Linked DNA regions of Homo sapiens: region 2 is linked to region 1. Evidence: promoter capture Hi-C in 16 types of primary human blood cells and fetal thymus (Javierre and others, 2016). All regions are on one chromosome and are shown on one strand. The core of a region is centred on a gene start or on the middle of the fragment in contact, and the rest is flanking DNA. Distances in the headings are between cores, read along the strand shown.

Evidence for each region. Contacts are between HindIII fragments. The CHiCAGO score rates a contact against its expected background, and 5 or more counts as called.
Region 2: the fragment with the promoter of RP2 here is called in contact with the fragment with the promoter of KDM6A in region 1 in 1 of 17 cell types (neutrophils); the score reaches 5.4 in neutrophils.

The regions. Positions count from the first base shown.
Region 1 is chrX:44,868,277-44,875,737 of GRCh38, reverse strand. It overlaps KDM6A (lysine demethylase 6A), which reads right to left and starts at 2,550. Exons shown (of 30, transcript NM_001291415.2): 1 at 2,026-2,550; 2 at 1,751-1,814. The coding sequence starts at 2,186. It overlaps LOC105373190 (a long non-coding RNA gene), which reads right to left. Exons shown (of 3, transcript XR_949040.2): 3 at 5,435-5,524. RefSeq lists silencers at 1,551-1,650, 1,661-1,740, 1,781-2,040, 2,381-2,610, 2,861-3,360. The HindIII fragment of the contact is 16,030 bases long and covers 811-7,461 here.
Region 2 is chrX:46,834,378-46,841,793 of GRCh38, reverse strand. RP2 (RP2 activator of ARL3 GTPase) reads right to left here and starts at 4,751. Exons shown (of 5, transcript NM_006915.3): 1 at 4,592-4,751. The coding sequence starts at 4,693. RefSeq lists an enhancer at 4,620-4,759 and a silencer at 5,070-5,149. The HindIII fragment of the contact is 11,862 bases long and covers 3,521-7,416 here.

The DNA.
Region 1 (7,461 bases), core at 1,301-3,800:
ATCTTTGCAAGCAATTTTATTAACCCATGTTAGACCAACAATAATCCCTCCAAAACAAAATAATGCTCTTTTAATTTAAATCATGTTTAATCTTTTATAATGACAACTTTGACAGCAGTCAAATATTTTTAAATAAAATACTTTAAATACTCAAATTGGAAAAAAAAAAAAAAACTTTAAGGCAGGAGACCAACAATTACTGACGCTTAAATCTTTCCAGAGCTAGTCACTGTTCATTTTTACAGCAATAATTGTAATGAAGCCAATTAATACCTACGTAGTCAAAGTTTAATTCAAGTTTTCTGTATCGGTCAAAGGGGCCGGGCTTACTGAAAAGCATTATTTCCATTTAGTTTTCTGATTATATGCAATATAACACCTTATAATTACTTTGAAATAAAAACAAATGTGTAATTACAGATAAAAAGGAATTGATGACTCTGCGAAACCAAGCTACAGACAAAAATTCAGAACAACAAAAAAATCAACTTAAGAATAAAATGTTAGACTTATTTCAAACTTGCGTCTCAACTGCAACAATAAAGCTAGGTGTCAAATGCAAAGCTATGATTTCAGCTAGAAAAGAAAATGTCTAACGGATACAACACCCATAGCACACACTCCAACTTTCACGGTCCCAATTACGAAGAAAGTATTCAAATACCATTGCAATCAGATTTTGGTCAGGAAATATAAACTGATGCATACAGATTGAGACTCCAGCCTTTGTTCAATAGCTTACAGATGGATAACTAAATGTGCTACAGGTTGATAAGCATTTACCAGGCTTATGCATGCTGCTTCCAAGCTTATGAAAGGTATAAGAATTCTATATGCAAATAATCTTGGGTAATTTTTTTTAAACACCACTGAGCTACACACTCCGAAGGAAAGGCTTATTCACGGCTACTATTTATTTCCATGTTTACCTCTACACCCTCCCCCTAACCCCCCCCTTCACTTTCTCCTCCCACCCTGTCCCGCCATCTTGGGCCGATAGGAGCAGCCATTACTTAACTAAATGACAGTGCCAACAACTTTCCACACAAATAAAAAAAGACTACACCCCGAATCCTCCCCAGCCTCCCCTGTCAGACACACAGGAAATGAGGCTCCAGGAAGAGAACACGTTTACAAATAACTACGGTATTTCTATGCCAAAAAGACCCAAAAAGTAAACAAGTCACCTAACTTCAGGTAACACACACTGCAATCGAGATACATGTCAACAGCCCAATGCAAACTCTTCACCGACCTAAACTCCGTGAAACTTCCCCCTTCTGGGAGCGGGGACACAAGAAAGCCTAAAACATTTGGTTAGCAGTAGGCATCACGAACAGCCTGCTTGAAGGAAAAGAATTTTTTTAAACCCGTAGAGGCAAGTTAAGTCCGAAATTTGGGAAAATCTGAACACACTCACGATCCCTTGACCCTAAACAGGCACCTCGAAGATCATCGGCCTACCCTCAAAAAGCTGTAAAATAGCAGGCAGTTGTGTCGACCCAGTTGAGCCCGGCCCCAAAGCGATCCCGTCTCTGTTCCTCCAGCTACAAGAGGAAAAGAGCGATTTCGCAAGGGAGCAAGCAGGGTACCCGGGGGTGGGGGGAGAGCAGAGGCAGGAAATAGTTTCCGGAAGCCCCTCGACCATCGTCCGTGGCCACAATGAGCACAGACCCGGCCGCGGGGCCCGGGGCGAGCGCGGCGCCGGCCAGGGAGACGGTGTCCGCGCTCCGACTCGCAGCTGCCTTACCTTGCCCAGTAGGGCCTTCGTCCTGGCGCCATCTTCATGAAATCTCACGAACCCAAAGAGGCGGCTGTGGAGACAGACACAGTTTACTCGTTAACGCTCAGGGAACGCCACCGACCCGTCCCTGCCCGAGCCCGAGGCCCCAGCGGAGGCGGCGCGAAGAGCGCCAAACCGAGGTGCCCGCCCCGCCGCCGCCAGAGACAAGCCGCGCTCGGTCCTCCCGGGAGAGCGGCTACTGCCCGTCCGGAGCCGACCGGGCGAGTGACGGCGGCCCGTACCTGTCCAGTCCGCCGAGCGCCTCCCTCTCCTCGGCTGTCAGGCTGGGGGACGCCTCCTCGCTCTCGCCGCTCGCTTTTCCCGCCGCCATTTTCTTTTCCTCATCACCGAAAGCGGCGGCGGCAGCGGCGGCGGTAGCGAGCGACACTCCGCAGGATTTCATGGAAACGCAGCGAATTCACAACTCCAACGCCGACACCCCCCCTCGGACCGGGGCCCGCAGTGACGCCCCCAATCTGCGCGCGGGACCAGCACACCAACTTTATCGCCGCCTCCTCCTCCGCCGCGGGCGGCGGCGACGAAAAATCCCAACGCGGCGGCGGTGAAGGCGGCGGCGGCGGCGGCAGGGGCTGCGGAGCCCCCGGGTCGGCAGCGGCGGCTTTCGGCTGTAGGGTCACATCGCGGGGTTGGGCAGGGGGCAGCCACAGGCGGGGACGGCGGGAACGGCCGGAGCGCGCGGGGCTGGGGAGCACTGAGGGGATTCGTTGGAGACACAAACTTCCCCGGCACCAGCACAAAGTTGTTGTAATTGTGTCACACAGCGAACCCCACGCCGCCGCCGTGACCCCCCCTCCCCGCCCGGCTGGCGCCACCAATCGGCGCGGCCCGCACGCCTCACGTGACCTTTGTTGACTCACGTCAGCCGTGGCTCCACTTAACTTGCTAGCTGCCCGAGCCCCGCCCACCGAGGCCGCCACCGAGATGGGAGCGGGACGCAGGCCAATTCTAGCCGGTGGTTGGCTGCTGGGCGCGTCTGTCGGGGGAAGGGTTGTCACCGAGAGGGAGCTTCCTGTTAGGTTGTGCTGGTTAAATACACTGGGGCAGAGAATGGAGGGTCCGGGCCGTGTCACCTCGGGAACCGCGGCGGGCTCTGGAGGGGGAGGGGAGTGGTGGGGAAGGGCGAGGTCCGGCACCGCCCGCGGCGGGCGCGAGCGGCGGGCGAAGACGCCAAGGACGGCATTTGCCTGCCCGCGAGCTCTGGGATGTGCCCAGACCGCGGCTCCGGCCGTCCCGCGCGCGCTCCAGGGGTCCCGGGACCCCACAGGGCCTGGTACAGGTCGCGTAGCCGGGAGGCGGCGCACGGCCCTCGACCTCTGCCCTCCGAAGAAGGCTCAGACTTTTGGCACTGCTGGAAATAATGGCCTCCGCGAGGAGGGCGCTCGGGGAGCGGCTGCCGGTCCCGTGCCCCGCGGTCCGGGTGCCGCCCTAGGCCAGACCTGCGCTGGCAGCCCCGATCACCTCACCCGCGCCGAAAGTGAAGGGGGAAGGGCTCCCCTGACCCCCGCCCATACGCCCCAGGCCGGAGGGAATGAAGAGTCGCCCGCGGGGCCTGGCTTGCCGACCATGGCTCCCCACCGCCAAAGGTCTGTCTGTTGGCGGCACTTTGGGGCCAGATTTTCGTGCTGTGTTTACCCTGTGTCTTATCAGTAGTTCATTACAGTCTTACAAGAAAAAGCAATGAGAAATTGTGAAGCGGGATCTGCAGAATGTTGGGTTCTATTGCCATGATTTCAGTGGAGCCTTCTTACAAAAGTAGGGGCTGCTTGTGGACAGACCTGAGAGAAGACATAATTAAATCATCACAGCTGGTGGCCCAAGAAATCCTTTCTATCCCCCAAAACCTGCAGGTTTGTAACCCCTAGACAACAGTAACATTTTGTTGTTCTGTCTCTCAGGTGCAGGGGAAAGGCTTTAGTCTGACTTTTAATCTTTACTATAGGTGAAAAAAAAATAGGCCTTTCGACTACTCTTCTCAAAAGGCAAATTTATTTACTAAGCTGTATGTCTTATAACAGGGATAGGAAAAAATTGATAGACATATAAGGACAAGATTCTGTTTATAAACGGAGTTTTTTATATTTTCAATAGGTTTTCCACCTGTAACCAATAAAAATTATATATTTAAACTTGGATTTCAAAATATGACGAAGACAATTCAGTGCTGACCCAGTAATTCCTACCAGTATTCAGCGGGAAGCTATGGGAATCCCAACTGATTTTGCACACAGTTTTAAATTGTTCCCCTGAGACTAGTAACTAGACGAACAAACTGTAGTTTTGTATAGATTATAGTTCATGTTTAATTACTTCCTCTGAAACACCTTTCCCTTTATGATACTCCATTTTGCTTGAATGAGTGTGTACAAAGGGCCAAATCTTTTCTACGGCTAAATTAATACATTGTTAACTTTGTCACAAATGGTGACATTTAAAGCCAAGGAAATTTTGACCCCAGTAACTCGCTCGCACACTCTCTCATACACACACACACACACACACACATACACACACACTTGCACAAGCACAGATAGACATTTTGCTGGTATTTGACTATCTCCCTGAAGTTAGCAGTTCCTGACTCAGGTCCTTTTCAAGGATTATAAGGCTACTCAATCCCGGCCGGGCTCTGTGGCTCACGCCTGCAAAGGGAGGCCGAGGCGGGCGGATCACGAGGTCAGGAGTTGGAGAGCAGCCTGGCCAATGTGGTGAAACCCCACCTCTACTAAAAATACAAAAAACAAAATTAGTCGAGCATGTGGCGCTCGCCTGTAGTCCCAGCTACTCGGGAGACTGAGGCAGAAGAATCGCTTGAACCCGGGAGGTGGAGGTTGCAGTGAGCCATGATTGCACCTCTGCACTCCAACCTGGGGACAGAGTGAGGCTCTGTCTCAAAAAAAAAAAAAAAAAAAAAGGCAGCCAGGCGCTTTGGCTCACGCCTGTAATCCCAGCACTTTGGGAGGCCGAGGCAGGTGGATCACGAGGTCGGGAGATGGAGACCACGGTGAAACCCCGTCTCTACTAAAAATACAAAAAATTAGCCGGGCGTGGTAGTGGGCGCCTGTAGTCCCAGCTACTCGGGAGGCTGAGGCAGGAGAATGGCGCGGAGCTTGCAGTGAGCCGAGATCGCGCCACTGCACTCCAGCCTGGGTGACAGAGCGAGACTCCGTCTCAGAAAAAAAAGGCTACCCACTCTCCACACCTCAACACTTTTCTTCCCGCTATTACTATGTAATAGCAGAACAGCAAGGAGTGGATGCAATGGGTGGGAGTTGGAGTGAGGCAGACCTGGATTCGAATCCTTGCTCTACACAGGCTGTGCGACCTTGAGAACATTACCTATCCTCTAGGCCAGTGCTCTATGTCTATTACAACTACAAGGATCTATCATCAAGCATGGGACAAATTTCATATGGTAACATAAGTCCTTACATCATACACATGTTACATAGTGTGTTATCTGTCAAATGTATGTAAAATAGATATAGAGCCTATAAGGTTTACATATTTCACTGGAGAGAGAAATAGGGACATACAATAAATGATTTTATAATAAATTTCCATGAAAAGTGAATCTGAAAACCCCACCGGAAGGCAGAGTAGTGCAGCCAAAGGAGCATGAATTGTGGAATCATACAGCTCTAGGTTCAGATCCTACCTTTACCACTTGATAGCTAGGCAGACTTCAACAAGTTAGTCTAATTTGAGCTTCAGTTCTCTCATCTGTGAAAAAGAGAAAATACAGCCACTTTATAACATTATTTTAGATGCCATAAGGTAGGTAAAGTGCCAGACACATAGATTCAAAAATCTCAATAAAATAGGAAGGCTGGAATTTCCAAAATTTTTTCTTGCTTTCACAATCTGGGTTCTAAATTTATTATTACTCTACCCATCACTTCCTCCTTCTCCCTCCACAACCTCACTATAAGCCCAACACATAAGCAGTCCTAAGTACTTTATACTTGAGGCATATAACCCCAGTATTGCTACATCTCTCATTTATTCTAAACTTCGGCCTTATAAGCCGGGTGCGGTGGCTCACGCCTGTAATATCAGCACTTTGGGAGGCTGAGGTGGGCAGATCACCTGAGGTCAGTAGCTCCAGACCAGCCTGGCCAACATGGTGAAACCCTATCTCTACTAAAAAAATGCAAAACTTAGCCAAGCATGGTGGCACATGCCTGTAATCCCAGCTACTTGGGAGGCTCACGCAGGAGAATCGCTTGAACCTGGGAAGCAGAGGTTGCAGTGAGCCAAGATCATGCCATTGTACTCCAGCCTCGGCAACAGAGCAAGACTCCATCTCAGAAAAAAAAAGAAAATAGAACATTCATCCTTATATCACTTAGTACTGATTCTTTTTCATAATTCTAAATACACCAGGAGCTGGGGAAAGTTTAATCTGAATTTAGCAAATTAATACGACTAATATATGTATAGATAAATCAATATTATAAAATTATATAAAATCTAGCTAAGTCAGATTACAGACTAAGTACATAATTTGTAGCAATATTATGTTAATATTTATGTAAGTACCATCAACTAATTAGAGAAGGAACCCATTTAAGTATAGGAAAATAATGTGACTTTCTTTTAAACAACGAAATATTTAACCTGAAGCACTTAGGAATATTTAGTGTGTTTATAATGTTAGTGCCATATAACCTTTACAGATAATAAAAAGTCACATAACAGAGTCATAGTTTATCTAGTCTTATCAATAGAACTATACGTAAATGTTACGATCAAACATAGGTTCAAAAAAATTTACCAGTTCTTCCCATACTTACCACTGTCATAGAGACTATCCAGCTGATGCCAGAACACAAAAATGACAGAAATAGATATATGGTTAGGTTTGAGCAGAGACAGGGAGCCAAGGATAAATGGACTTTCAGTTGTTATGAAAACTTCAGTTGTGAGAATAGAGTTAGGACTGCTAGAAGATGCCTGGACTCCTACCTTCACCAGGCTGTAATGAGGCACCTCACATCCCACCCCCGCCAACACACACACACAACTGCACTAGGCAGCCTGGACTTCCACCCAGCAGTTGTGAGGGGTCAGTACCCATCCCTGCTGAATTAATGTCAGAGTCGTCAAAACTTTCATCACTGCCCAGTGGTATACTACCACCCCCCCCATTGTATCAGTGGAGGGGGAGCAATGTAGGGAACAATAATGAGGGACTCCTATACTGCCCAGCTAGGGTGAATGGAGGCCTCAATCTAGGCCTGGTAGGGAGCGAGAACTCCCATCCCCACAAAGCAGTAACAAGGAGACATTGCACTCATTGTCAACCAAGATTGAGGGGGAAAGCTGGACTTCCACCCACACCTGGCAGTAACAAGAGAATGCCCCCTTTGCCCCCACTAGAGCAATGTCAGAGGAGGCCTGCTAAAATACAAGATTTAAATAAGATCTAGAGTCTTGGCCGGGCGCAGTGGCTCATGCCTGTAATCCCAGCACTTTGGGAGGCGAAGGCGGGTGGATCAGCTGAGGTCAGGAGGTGGAGTCCAGCCTGACCAACATGACAAAACCTCATCTCTACTGAATACAAAAAAAATTAGCTGGGCATGGTGGCACATGCCTATAATCCCAGCTACTTGGGAGGCTGAGGCAGGAGAATTGCTTGAACCCCGGAGGCGGAGGTT
Region 2 (7,416 bases), core at 3,502-6,001, 2.0 Mb before region 1:
GAGGATTTAAAACCTACTGGCAAATTCTTTGACACTCCTCCCATTGAGAGGTCACCTCCTCTTGGAACTGGGTGGGCATTTGTGACTGCCTCAGCATTACTCCTGCCACATCCAAATTAAGTCTAATTAAGTGACTTAAGAATTCACTTAATAAGCTAGTTAGAAAAAAACCATGCAGCTTCTGCCAGTCTCTCTTAGGATGCTTGCCCTTGGAACCCTGCCATCACACTGTAAGGAAGCCAGGAATACATGGAGAGGCCCCAGCTGAGCTCCCAGCCCAAAGCCAGCATCAACTTGCCAGCCAGCTATGTGGTCAAGCCATCTTGAAAGCTGTCACGGTTGATGCCACATTGAGCAGAGTCAACCCTGCTTAACCTTATGCAAATTAAAGAGTTATGAACAAAATATCTGCCATTATTTTAAACCATTAAGTTTTAGGGTGGTTTGGTACACAGCAATGGGTAACTAGAATACTTTTCATACTTAAAAGAAGGCTAAAAACAGTATCTAGCCTCCTCCTACTTAGTGCAGACACTTCTTTCTAGCAGATTACCACCCTAACTGTCTGACAATTTTGACTAACATGGAGATCAGGTCCTCAACGAAGCCACCCCTTCCACTGATGACCAATCCTGGGAATTATGATCTGCCTTATGTTAAAACCAGTTCTGTCATGCCCAACCTCTGGTTTAAGTTCTTTCCTCAGAGGTGACCATTACTGTCTAAACCTCTTCTTCAGGACAGGCCTTTACCTTACTAAACAGTAGAGAAATCTTTAGCATTGTCCTACTATATAGCTGAGGAACCTGAAGTGCACAAATTGGCTGCTTTACCCAAAGTTACACAATAGATACTCGAATTTCTGGTATAAGATTTTTGTTTAGTATTATTTCTATTGAATATGAGACAAATATAACAGACACATGTGTTGTCCTTACTCAAATCACAATTTTCACACTTAAGCCATAATTGTTTAGAGTTAATCCTCATTTCTATTATCTAGGAGGAAAAGTATGGGCATGAATACTGGAAGATGAAAACTACTTTTCCGTATCACTCTTCCTCACCTCATATGTACTTAAATGTTTCCTGTTTTAACTCCAGAAAGCCAGTAAACTCTTTTAGGGCAGGGATAAGTCTTATAATTTTGAGACTTACTTGGTGTTTGAGTACATACATACTGAATAATTTGCCTACCTATGGGTGGCAGCATACAGATAAGGATAAAAACATTTCTTTTGAAATAATTTAAACACAAGTCTTACAATCCAAAAATATTTCTCATCACATCAGTGTAAGAATTGTAATCTTTTTTCTTTTTCAAAGTCAGTAGCAATAGAAAATGAGCTTCTTACACTGTTGACTACAGTATGTCAGTTGCTATGACAATGCTTAGTCCCCAGACATTCCTTCTAAATGAGACAATTTCTCCCAGCTTCAGTCCCCTAAGACTGACCCAATTACACAACTCAAACCCCAAAACCCAAGGGGTGCCCTTCAATAAAGATACTCTGGGCTGGGAGCGGTGGCTCACGCCTGTAATCCCAGCACTTTGGGAGGCTGAGGCAGGTGGATCACCTGAGGTCAGGAGTTCAGGACTAGCCTGGCCAACAAGGTGAAACCCTGTCTCTACTAAAAATATACAAAAATTAGCCAGGCGTGGTGGTGCACGCCTGTAATTCCAGCTACTCAGGAGGCTGAGGCTGGAGAATCGCTTGAACCCAGGAGGCAGAGGTTGCAGTGAGCCGAGATCGCGCCACTGCATTCCAGCCTGGGCGATGACAGAGCCAGACTCCATCTCAAAAAGAAAACATCAAAAAAAGATACTCTGATTACACAACCTAAGGAAAAATGTAAACACCCTTTTCTAAGCTGCAAGGAAATTTTTCAGGCAACCCATTTTGTTTTTACATGTAAAAGTCTTACAAGTTGAATGGTAATTGTCTGATATAACTTTAAAACTGTATATGCTATAATCCATAACCACATTCCAGAAGCCTAAACTTTTAATATAAATCATTTCTATTAATATGCATGCATCATATCTCATTTATGTTCTCTGGGCTGTATTTGCAATCTGTTCCTTTTAAGGTACAACTGAAATCTTCTAGGAGCAAGCAAGGCCATGCTCAGTAAACGTATCATTGGACTAATACAGAACATTTGCACACTAGCCCAAATTAACCTCACGGGAGGCAAGGAACTAGGAAAAAATATTTTATTTATTTATTTTTTTTTTTTGGAAACAGGGTCTCACTCTGTTGCCCAAGCTGGAGGGCAGTGGCCCGATCATGACTCATTGCAGCCTCTAAGTCCCAGGCTCAGGTGATCCTCCCACCTCAGCCTACTGAGTAGCTGGGACTACAGGTGTGCACCACCATGCCCCACTAATTTTTGTATTTTTAGTAGGAATGAGGTTTCGCCATATTGCCCAGGCTGGTCTGGAACTCCTGGGCTCAAGAGAGCCACCAGCCTTGGCCTCCCAAAGTCCTGGGATTACAGGCATGAGTCACCATGCCTGGCCCTAGAAAAAAATATTTTAAATTGTATAAAATTTAACAAGCTATCAAAATGAGGCAACTTAGAAAGAATTCCTAGTAATTCCAAAAGAAAAAAAAACTAAAAAGAAAAAGCTATGTTGGGAAATGTGGTATCTGCATTGTCTCAAAATGTAAGCTGGTAATTCTCTTCAACAGTCCAAAATATTTTAAAACTGGGGTTTTTTTCAGAATGCTCATTTGGTTAGAAATTCTCATTTTGATTGGCTGAGTTGATCAAGATTTTAACTTTTATTATACACACACTCAGAAGCATGAGCTTATTTTATATATCCAATAACATCTCTTACAACTCTACAACTACAGAACTTAGTAGTGTTCTCAAAAAAAAAGGTTCTCTGTAAGCTCAAAACAGTTTCTACAATTGAAAGTTTATTACACACTCATTTGTGGGGAAAAAGCTTAGATGTTGGTGTCCAATGTTATATTTCTCAATGCATTTACTTAGCCAATGGGCAAAAGAAGAAAAAAAATCACAGGACACACACACTTATCTAAAAGAAGGATTAACATGAGAAGTCCTAACTAACCTGAATATTATGTTAATAAACATTAACTGTAAAACAATTTATTGTGAAACGATGAGTCATAGGCAGCCAAGACTACTATAAATAAAAAAGGCATTTTATTTAGTTTAGATTTAGCCTGAGTTCAAAAGAAAAAACTAAAATAAAAATGAAATATGCAACTTTCTCTAAGGCAGACAATTCAAGCTAAAAGAACATTGTTAGAAAGCCAAAGGCTGAGGAAAACAATATCTTTTAAAAACCGCCCATCAGATAACTTTAAATGGCAGGTGCAATCTTCTTGTGAAATAGAAAGCATAGTACTTTCTTCCCCTACATTATAAAATGCTACTATCGAGTATGACTAACAGAGAATAAAGGTACCATGTGACCCAAGAAGGGTGTGTATGAGAAGTAGGGGCAGAAAGACGGGGCTGAGAAAAGCTGCAAAAAGCTTTCAATTTCCTAACTCTGACTCTTAGAGACCAGAGCTTACCTGAATACATTCTGCTGGGGATTGGAAATCATGCAGAAAGGTCTGTGATTCCAAAACGTTAATACATTTATTATAAAGTAATCTTGGGTAAAGATATGTTGCCTTAAGCAAAGAGTTAACTGTTCATAATACCCATTTGAAAAATCTCTCATTTTGTTTGGGAGAAATAATTGATAAGTCCATCAAAGTAGTTTAGTAAGCACAAATGGAGAACTATGTAGAAAGAGGAACTATTATGAAATGTATGACCGAGTGTGTTTTGTGTAAGACTAATGGAGGTTTTCAAAGGTTTTTCGTTTCTGGCTATATACAAAAATAAAAATAAGGGCGTTTTCATTCATTTAAACCAGCAGTAAAATACTGCCTGGTTTATGCCGCTTATTTTCACCTTACAGTCTTAATACACATTCCAAGACTGATGCGATATTCATTATTTCTTTCGGATAACTGGAAGAGGAGGGGGAGTAAAGCTGTACATTAAACAGTCCACTTGGTAATTGAGAAAATTCAGCAGTGAAATATATCATGAGGCACCAAAGAGATTTGCCGGGGAGGGCAGACAAAAGAGAAAACAGCCACAGAACATTAAGCCCCGGAAGAGATGAGAATCGGTCCCATATACGTAACTCGACGACTGGACAAAACCCCGCTTGACGCTGCCGGTGGGTGAAACGAGGTGATTTGAGATTCAGGGCGTTCTCGGCTCTTTCCCTCTCTCGAATCGATCATCTCCAACAGGAAGTCAGAGCAAGGCAGGGTTCGGAGTCAGAGAAAGCTCCCGGGGGAGTCTGTCTACCACGACAACAAACTCCTAAGGCTCCTTCCGGAGCTCCACAGCCCTCTGGGCGGCCTCTCTAGCGCTGTACTTCACGTCCCCGCTCCCCAAAAAAGTCGTGCACCCCGACTTCAGCTATCCGCGTTCAAGAGAGTGCGGCAGCAGTTGGGTCGGCCCCCTCAGCGGTCCCGGGCCGTAAGGGACCTGGCGGAGCGGCTCAGGGAGGCTGAGACGGCGGCTACACGACTTTCATTACCTTCTCGCGCTGATCCCAGCTGTACTGCTTTGGCCGCTCCTCCTCGTTCTCGGGCCGCGACTCCTTGTCAGCCTTCCGTCTCTTGGAGAAGAAGCAGCCCATGGTCCCAGCCCGCGGAGCTCGTTGGCCAGCTCACTAGCTCAGGCACTTCCTAGAGTGTGGCGTGAACCCTGGGAACCCCGGCCTCGCAGCTCTCCGGACAACGCCCCGCGGAACCGCCCAACGGTCCGCAGCCTTAGTTTGCCCGCCAGGCCCAGCACCCCTTCCCCTTTTTCGTCGCCCTGACGACCCAGCGCAGCCAATGAACGCTCAGCGCCTGTTGAGCCAATCAAAGCCTCTCGAGCAATCCTGCGCGGCCTATGAAGAGAGGCCGACATACCCACATACCAATCCACGCCTGGCTCCTGCGACAGCCCCTGGCGGCGGGGCGGGCCGGCTCTGGCGCAAGCACGGACAACCCCGCCCACAGCTGTGGCACGGACCGCCCTCGGCCCCGCCCCTCCTGGAACTTGGTGGGTTCTCTAGCTGGTGGGAGGCCAGGCTCGGTATCCGGGTTTTTTTTGCCCCTGATTCATAAATTTGCAAGTTCAAGGCGCGGGAGAGATCTCTAGTTGAACATTAGATTTATCTTATGATGAAAGTTGTGAGGGACAGAAATTCCCGCTGACACAAGAAGACCCTGAAATTTGTATTTCTAAATCCTCTTCTCCCCTCATCACCCTTCCTACCGCCCTCTCATCGCCTGGCCAGGGTCACCCCCTCAAGAATTGTACCCCATAACCTCCCAATCCTCTTCTGTGCTCTTTCTTTCTTTCTTTCTTTCTTTCTTTCTTTCTTTCTTTCTTTCTTTCTTTCTTTCTTTCTTTTTCTTTCACAGGGTCTCGCTATGTCACTCAGGCTGCAGTGGCACAATCATAACTCACTGCAACCTTGCAACTTTGCAACCTTGACTTCCTGGGCTCAAGCGATCCTCCTGCCTCAGCCTCCTTCCTGAGTAGCTGGAACTACAAGCAAGCACCACCATGCCCACCTATTTTTTTTTTTTTTTACTTTTGTAGAAATGGGGTCTTGCTATGTCGCCCAGGCTGGTCTTGAACTCCTGGGCCCAAGCGATCATCCTGCCTCAGCCTCTCAAGGTGCTGGGATTACAGGCAGGACCCACCGCACCCCAGGCTGCTTCTGTGTTTTCTTAAGACTTTCACATATGGCTCTAAAATTGCACAAGTACTTAGTAAAATAGTTAATTGTGTATTGTTTCCCTATTTGAACTGTGACTTTCTTGAGATCAAAAAGGTATATCTTTTTTTTTTTTTTTTTTTTTTGATGGAGTTTTTGCTCTTGTCGCCCAGGCTGGAGTGCAGCAGTGCCATCTCGGCTCACTGCAACCTCCGCCTCCCGGGTTCAAGTGATTATCCTGCCTCAGCCTCCAGAGTAGCTGGGACTGCAGGCGCCTGCCACTACGCCCGGCTAATTTTTGTATTTTTAGTAGAGACGGGGTTTCACCATGTTGGGCAGGCTGGTCTCGATCTCCTGACCTCAGGTGATCTGCCCGCCTCGGCCTCCCAAAGTGCTGGGATGACAGGCATGAGCCACCGCGCCTGGCCTAAAAGGTATGTCATAAAGGGCATGCAGGGCCGGGCGCGGTGGCTCACGGCTGTCATCCCAGCACTTTGGGAGGCCGAGGCGGTAGGATCATGAGGTCAGGAGATCGAGACCATCCTGCTCAACACAGTGAAACCCCGTCTGGTGAAACCCCGTCTCTACTAAAAATACAAAAATTAGCCGGGCGTAGTGGCGTGTGCCTGTAGTCCCAGCTACTCGGGAGGCTGAGGCAGGAGAATTGCTTGAACCCAGGAGGTGGAGGTTGCAGTGAGCCAAGATGGCGCCGCTGCACTCCAGCCTGGGCGACAGAGGGAGACTCTGTCTAAAAAAAAAAAAAAAAAAAAAAACCAGAGCCGGGGGGGGCGGGCACGGTGGCTCACGCCTGTAATCCCAGCACTTTGGGAAGCCAAGGCGGGCGGATCACAAGGTCAGGAGTTCGAGACCAGCCTGGCCAATATGGTGAAACCTCATCTCTACTAAAAATACAAAAATTAACCGGGCATGGTGGCGGGCGCCTGTAGTCCCACCTACTCGGGAGGCTGAGGCAGGAGAATAGCTTGAACCCAGAAGGCGGAGGTTGCAGTGAGCCGAGATGGCGCCACTCCACTCCAGCCTGGGCGACAGAGCAAGACTCCGTCTCAAAAAAAAAAAAAAAAAAAGGCAGTGGGGAGGAAAGCTGAGGGGAGGGATGTACCTTTGAATCTCCTACACCTGGCCCAAGTCCATACTAGGTGCTCAATACAACGTTTGTCAAATGAATGAATGCATGCATGGGTGCTAGTGAAGGAAGCATTTATAAACTTCCCCCATCCCTTCCCAAAGAAAGTGACCAAACTGTGGGGGTGGGAGGCATGTGGATTTATGGTAAAGGGGTTCTCCTCATGGAGTTTATAGCCTCGTTGAGGACATAAGCATTGCATATGAACGATCAGATCTGTTCTAAGCAAATGGCATAGGGTTCGTCAGAATATATTTAAAGATATATACACTAAATATAAACATTTGTTATACTTGGGTCGAATTTTACTGCAATACACATGCATTGCCTATGTAATAGAAAAGAAAGGTAAGTCAGTTTCTCTGAGAAACAGTATTTTGACATCTCAGTAGGATATCAAATGCTGATCACTTCAGGTTCAAATTTGGTTATCTTTTAAATTTCCCATACTTATTCACATCTAGTTTGTATCCTAAATGAGCCTCTGACTTTTTTTTTTTTTTTT